Regions from separate parts of the Homo sapiens genome. Here region 1 is linked to region 2. Evidence: promoter capture Hi-C in 16 types of primary human blood cells and fetal thymus (Javierre and others, 2016). All regions are on one chromosome and are shown on one strand. The core of a region is centred on a gene start or on the middle of the fragment in contact, and the rest is flanking DNA. Distances in the headings are between cores, read along the strand shown.

Region 1 (3,812 bases), core at 235-2,734, 260 kb after region 2:
TTTGCTAACAAATTACATGGCAAAGCACTGTTGTACTATGCAATGATGCTATATCTATGCTAGAAGAATATATAATACATATCACTGTTAGCAGACCTACCACTCACAATATCCCCAACTCACAGAAAAGCAATGGTCAGAAAAATCAGAAAACTTAAAATGGAATGCCTCATCACAGCAGAATTTTCTTTACCCCAGTTAAGTTTCTGAGTGGCTCATTTGTTAGCCAAGCAGGAAAAATCATTTGCTGGTGGTAAGTTAATTAAATCATGTTTGATTGCAACTGCTGAAGAAATGTGTCCAGAGAAAATAAACTGTTAGTCTTTTGGTAAGAACAGTTGTTTGGAGAGTTGAGAATGTTGGGAACAACATTATTTGTCAATTCAAAACCAAGGTGAATGATTCTGAGTGGCTTTCCTTGGCTAGTGATGTTAACACCGATGATGCTCAGTTGTTACTGTTTATTCAAGGAGTCAATGCTGAGTTCAAAGGAACTGAAAATTTAGCCTCTGTGAACTGTCTTAGTGAATCAGCTATGGTGAGACTATTTTATTATTTATTTATTTATTTATTTATTTATTTATTTATTTATTTATTTTTTGAGACAGAGTTTCACTCTTGTCTCCCAGGCTGGAGTGCAATGGCATGATCTTGGCTCGCCACAACCTGCACCTCCAGGGTTCAAGGCCAAGGTGGGCAGATCACCTGATGTCGGGAGTTTGAGACCAGCCTAGCCAACATGGTGAAAACCTGACTCTAACTAGCCAGGCATGTTAGACTCTAATTAGCCAGGCATGATGGCTGGCTACCAGAGACAGATTCTCCTGTCTCAGCCTCCAGAGTAGCTGGGATTACAAGTACCTGCCACCATGCCTGGCTAACTTTTGTATTTTTAATAGAGACGGGGTTTCACCATGTTGGCGAGTCTGGTCTGGAACTGCTGACCTCAGGTGATCTGCCCACCTCGACCTCCCAAAGTGCTAGGATTACAGGCGTTTGAGTCACCGTGTCCAGCCGGTGAGACTATTTTCAAAGGCATTAAGGAAACATTAATTCAGTGAACTTGAATAAGTGGAATCCACTAAGATGAGTGACCACTGATGGTGGTAAAAATATCTGTGGAGCAGAAAAAGGTTTAGTTGGACAAATTTACAAAGCTTGTTAAATGTAAGGTTTTAAAATCCCATTGTTATTTATCTTACTAATCGCTAGCAAGTGCTCTGCGGACAATGTTTGAATCTGTCATGAGTTTTTGAACCCTTAGCATCAGGAGTGAAATTTACTTCTGTGAACATCGTCAGTTTCATTAATGTTTGTTAAAAACAGAAGCTGAGTATCCTGACTTAGCTTACAGCAGTACGGTGGCTTAGCAGTGGTAAAGTTTTATTGTGAATTTTTGAACTTAGAGCTGAGATGAACACTTTTCTGGAAGAGAAGAACCTTTGACAATCTCCATTATTGAACACTGAATTGCTTTGAAAATTGGCTTTTGCTGAAGACCTGTTTCTTAAGTAATTCAACCTAAAATTATAAGGTAAAATTGCATCTGTATGCAAATCTTATATTGCAATAAAGTTATTTAGGGACATTAATGTTGCTTGAATCATAAACAATGTCAAGGTGCTTTGCATACTTCCTGTGCTGTCAAAAGGTAAAACAGGAAGTGAGCTCTCCATTTCCACACAAATTTGCAGCAGAAATATTTTCCAAGCTCAAATGACAATTCCAGGAGCCTTTTCACAACTTGACAAAAGTACGAAGGAAATTTCCAAATTTCGACATCCATTTAACTGTGCAATTGAGAAGCTTCCACTTCAACTTCAATTGGAAGTGGTTAGTTTGCAATGTTATGCAATGCCAGAAGGCAGATATCAAGAGAAGAATCAAACACAATTTATAGATGTCTTCCAAATGATGAATATGCTCAATTAAAAATCACAAGCTTGTGGACTGACATCCATATTTGGCAGTATCTGTCTGAGTGAAAAGACATTTGCAAAGATGAAACACATAACGTCGCACTACAAGTCAGCATTGACAGATGACATCTGCTATTGATTTTGATAATGGGAGCACTTACTTTGAACATTAATTTAGTGAAATGTTATCCCTCCCCCAAAACAGTTGCATTCTTTTTATTAGTAGACCTATCTTACAAAAAATTGTACACAATTATTTTTGTTTTATGTTTTAGATTTCATTAATAAAAATTTGGTGGAAATTTGTTTTCTCTCCTCTTATGTAAGTATCTACATAATAATCCTTGATTTTACCATTTAGTCTATAAAACCTAAACTATTCATCCTACAGAAACAGTCTGCTAACTCTTGGTCTAGACTCACCTTGCTATTCAAAATACAGTTCACAGTCTAGCCTGATAAGCATCATGTGGTGCTTGCTAGGAAAACAGAATTGTGGGCCCCACCTGAGACCTACTAAATCAGAATCTGCATTTTATCAAAATCCCTGGGGATTCAAATGTTCATTAAAGGTTGAGGAGCCCTGCTGTGGAACATAAGCCAAAACAGCAAGTAGGTATGCTGTGTGGTCCACCAACCTCCCAGGGACATCTGTCTCTTGCACTCTATTGCTGGCACACACACATGCTGCTATAAATGTCTTGATGTTGCCACTGCAGCATGGTGCGAGCGCAGCTCTGCACCGTCCACGGCCGCTGCAGCATGGTGTGAGCGCAGCTCTGCACTGTCCATGGCTGCTGCAGCATGGTGTGAGTGCAGCTCTGCACTGTCCATGACAGCCTGCTTCCGTTCTTCCAGGGTGAGGCATCAGCCACTCAAATGCTTCAAGGAATAGTAGGTGTGCTGGATTTGTCTCCAAAAGCTACAACCCAACTACACATCCAGGGCGCAAGCAATTTAGTATCAACAGATTGCATGACTTAGATAAGAGGAACCCAGATTTTCGTGGATTTCTTCTTCCACTTGTATTTAAGGCAGGCTCAGCTGTCAGCTGCCTGATGGTCTCAGTTTCCCTCTGTTTGAATAAAATGCCAGTGTCATCAAAGGAAGAAACCGAGGCCTTGGATTTTATCCACCTAAACTCAGGCTGAAATACAGCAATACTAGGTACCTTTTATAATAACATGACTCTCTGGTAACCCTGACTGTTTTGCAATACATCTTTGCTGCTGTCAGTCTTCCTGTCATTTGTAAAGAAGATAAATTAAAAAAAAAATCCACATCAAACACCTCCACTCCTTCAATCCTCAACCATCACGTGACTGGTGTCTTCATTTAAATTGTGAGGATACATTTTTTTTTAATGATAGAATTCAGACACAACAGTTTCAACTATTTATGTAGTTATAATGTTTTTAAATAGTTGTGATGTTTGGAGAATATATAGTACACATATGAGGTCCTCAATACATTTTAGCTCTATCCGTCCCCACCAAATGACAATCAGCCTTGACTCCTCACCTTCTCTCCTATTTACATCCAATTCATCAGCAAATTTTTTATTTTCTTTTTGTTAGTTTGTGTACCATTTAATTCATGGTACACAAAATTCATATTAAATTTGCTTTATAAAGTCAGGGCTTTAAAAATGGAAACAACTTGACAAAATATTCATCATGACATTTTGAGACCATTAAGACAAACTATAATGAAAAAAAGCCAGAAAAGAACACATTAACCATTCTTCACTACATATAGTTACTAGGAGGAATAAAACAAGTCACAGATCATCATCTTAGTACAGTGCAGTTCTCTCATTTAGAACTGGTTTATTAGGGCAATTGTTAATGCTGCTCAGAGAAACACTGAGAACAAATATCCACTGGAGGTAAA
Region 2 (3,726 bases), core at 126-2,625:
AATGTTTGAATATAAAAGGCCAATCTGCTCTCAGCACACCTCCTGTCTCTAAAATCCCCGAAAACAATCACTTTTTTTTTTTTTTTTTGAGACGGAGTTTTGTTCTTGTTGCCCAGGCTGGTGTGCAATGGCGCGATCTCAGCTCACTGCAACCTTCGCCTCCCAGGTTCAAGTGATTCTCCTGCCTCAGCCTCCCAAATAGCTGGAACTAAGGCACGCGCCACCATGCCCAGCTAATTTTGTATTTTCAGTAGAGACGGGGTTTCACCATGTTGGTCAGGCTGGTCTCGAACTCCTGACCTCAAGTGGTCCACCCGCCTCGGCCTCCCAAAGTGCTGGGATTACAGGCGTGAGCCACTGCGCCCGGCCCACAATCACATCCTAAGAGACAAACATGGAGTAAGCCATCTTACAGTCCTGGGAGAACCAACACTCGCTTGCCTACCACTACCGTCGGTGTGTCAGGCACTGCTAAAGGTACTGAGGAAAGTGGAAGGAACAATCACAAAAATGAAAAAGAGAAGAGAGGAACTGCACTCCATTTTAAACTCTGCTCGCTGGTTTTCGGTAGCTCTGCGGCTCGGTTTTCATCCTTCCGGGCAGTGTAACAAGTTCCTCCTGAACTCTGAGTCCGTGGCCGTCGCGGAGCTGAGCCACTTTCAGGGTGTGGGTCAGAGTAAGTTTGGGTTGAGGATGCTGCAGCCAGGACAATCAAACGGCAGCCCAGCCAGATCCCCACGCGGCTGGGGCTTAGCCCCGGGCTTCCTACCGCGAGCTGAATCCGTTCATAGGTCCTTAAAAATCAACAGCCCCGTACGCTACCCCTGGAGAGATTTCTACATTCTGACCACTCACTCAAACGCAAAGGTCACGTTAGCCGCTGAACTCCAAAGCAGAGGGGCTCGCCGCCAGGGCTCCGGGAGTTGGAGAAGGGCGCGGGAGGTGTGTCCAGGACACCAGCACAAAGGCTCCTTTCACCGCTCCGCGCCCCGCGCCCTCGGGTGCGGACCCTGGGCGCCCGCCGGCTGCGCGCCAGGACCCCGCCACTCCAGGCGGCTCCCAAGGCCCACGCGCTTCTGCTCCGCCCGGACTTCCGAGCCCAGCCGTGGCGCTCACCTGTCCTGCCCGCAGCGCCAGCTGCACGGCCGCCTGGAAGCACTCCTCCCAGGGGCCGGCCGCCAGCGCCGCCTGGTCCTCGCCGCTCGGCTTCATCGCGGCCTCGCCGGGCCCCTCCACCTCCAGCCCCCCTCGGCGGGACTCCGGCTCCCACCGGATCCCGCCGTCCCGCCGCCAGGCTCCACACTCCCTGTGCCTGCTCCCGCAGCTCTGTGCCTAGTCCGCCGCCCGTCCCACACCTGCGCTGGCGGGAAGGGCAGCCAGCGGGCCGCGGGAGCCGTGCGTCCTGCTTTCCGCTCCCCACCCTCCGCCCCGCCCCGTGCCGAGCCCAGCCCAGCTCCCCGCCCCGCTCCCCGCCCAGCTCCCTGCTCCCGCGTCCGGCCCCGCTCTGCATTCCCCACCTCGCCCCTCGCAGAGCTCGGCCCCGCCCATTCCCCCCTCTTCCCCGCCCCTTGACGCTCCCGGCCCCGCCCCGCACCCGTTGCTGCTCCTGGCCTCTTCCCGCGCCGTGCCCGGCCCCGTCCTGCACCGCCCCTCCCGCTCCCGGCTGCGCCCCGTACCTGGCCCCGCCCCTCTGGGCTAGCCCTGAACACAAATCAGTGCCGAGCCTGGTCCCTCTCCGCTCCGCGCTTTACCTCCAGCCCCGCCCCTGTGGTGCAGCATCACCCTCCCCGCTCGAGGCGGACCCAACCCTGCTCCGCCGTGCCCCGTCCCGCAGCGCGCAGAGCGGGCTCCAACTCCTCTGAGCCTCGAGCCCCGCCTCCCTCAAGTTGAGCCGGGCCCGTGTCCAAGCCCCGCCCCACCGCCGCGCGCTGAGACAGGCCCCACCCCCGGCTCGTGCAGAACTCCGTACTGTTCTGGGTCAAGCGCGCGGAGGGCGGCTTGGGCCACCGCAGAGCTGGGAGGGAGGAGCTAGGAGCGGCTGTTTTGGGGGCCCGGGGCAGCTACTGTCTGGGTGGGACCGTGCGGTGCCGGCCCAGCCCCGGAGGTGCCGGGGAGCGTCCCGTCCGCGGATCCCCGCGCACGTGGTGCCGGGCGTCCCTTCATGGTCTGTGGCCGGATTCGGGCTCGAGCGCCAGGGGCGGCTGGGCCAGCACCTTCCGACCGGTCGCTTTTTGTTCGCGGAGGCCGCTGGGCGCTAGGCGTCGTTCTCGGCCTCGCAGGAGCTCAGACCGCCGAGCGCACAAGGCCGCAGTGTTCCTGCAAGCGGCCGCCCCGCGCGGCAAGTTTGGTCGCAAACAAGCTCTCCCTCCGCTAACCCCAAACACTGCGAGGACAGCGGCTGGACTTTATAAACTCTTCACACCCAAAACTCGAATTTGGAGACGGAACTGTGATTGCGATGAGCCTCTGTAGTGAGGAATGACCTTTCCAACCTTGGATTCTCTTGCTGGCCCATGTAAACATAAATAGGAGGCATTTCCCGAAAGAGTGGCCGCGTGGTTTCCAAGGTTAATTTCATAAGCCGCTCTGCCTGCCCGTTTTATAAAAGATGCTAACCCACGTAAAATTATTCTGGAGTGCCACTTCGGAGTCTGGGAGAATAATGGGAGTTTGTACAAGAACCTTGATGGGGCATTTTTTACACACTTAACCTAATAATGAAATTAAACGTTTTTAGTTTTTGAGTACTTTATGCTGAAACACCTTGTGGAGAAACTTTAAGTGTACCGTATAAGAGACAAAAAGTACAAACAGGAGGAATTACAAACAGGAAATACAAACACGCAGATATGGGTACAACTTTAGGGACTCTGGCCTCACCCAGAGCCCTAATCCTACGGCTCAGAAAACTAGACCAATTGCCCTGCCTCCCACCACGCCAGTTTGGGGCAGCTAAGGGCGCACTCCCCTCCATCTTTTTTGGGTTCTTATGTTTTTATGATGTTTAAGACAGAGGCCGGGTGCGGTGGCTCACGCCTGTAATCCCAGCACTTTGGGATGCCGAGGCGGGCGGATCACGAGGTCAAGAGATCGAGACCAGCCTGACCAACAAGGTGAAACCCCGTCTCTACTAAAAATACAAAAATTAGTTGGGCGTGATGGCAGGTGTCTGTAATCCCAGCTACTCGGGAGGCTGAGACAGGAGAATCCCTTGAACCTGGGAGGCTGAGGTTGCAGTGAGCCGAGATGGCGCCACTGCGCTCCAGCCTGGCGACAGAGTGAGACTCCGTCGCAAAAAAAAAAAAAAAAAAAAAAAGACAGCAGGACTTCAGAATGCACTTAAGATTGTGCTGTGAATGCGTTACTTTAAAAGAAATGCATTCTCTTGTTGATTTTCATGACAGGTTTTCATTAGCGGTCACTTCCAACACCAAGCAAACAAAGAAGTGGCAAAATGTCTCTTCCGCCTCTTCCCAGTTCTCCTTTCTGAACACCTCTGCCTGTGCTCCTGGTACTGTCACCCCATCTGGAAGCTCAGTTATATCTTTAGATAAACTTTCATGATAGATCCCAGCTTATCTAAACAACTGGAAAAAGAGTTAACTTTCTTTCCCAAATGACATATCTTAAGGCAGCGTAGTGTGGTTTTTAACAGCATGAGGCTTTGAAGCAGCCAGGTTTCCTAAATTAAAATATTGGCCTCTCTTCTTCCTTACTGTGTGGATT

What was found. Contacts are between HindIII fragments. The CHiCAGO score rates a contact against its expected background, and 5 or more counts as called.
Region 1: a contact is called between a fragment that was not itself captured here and the fragment with the promoter of IMPA2 in region 2, in 1 of 17 cell types (M2 macrophages). The highest score is 5.2, in M2 macrophages.

The regions. Positions count from the first base shown.
Region 1 is chr18:11,718,676-11,722,487 of GRCh38, reverse strand. The region is part of intron 1 of GNAL (G protein subunit alpha L); the gene reads right to left. Among named protein-coding and RNA genes, the nearest start is that of GNAL, 31 kb to the right of the region's middle. The HindIII fragment of the contact is 649 bases long and covers 1,160-1,808 here.
Region 2 is chr18:11,979,156-11,982,881 of GRCh38, reverse strand. It overlaps IMPA2 (inositol monophosphatase 2), which reads right to left and starts at 1,375. Exons shown (of 8, transcript NM_014214.3): 1 at 1,117-1,375. The coding sequence starts at 1,212. RefSeq lists silencers at 838-2,317, 2,158-2,452. The HindIII fragment of the contact is 12,350 bases long and covers 1-3,726 here.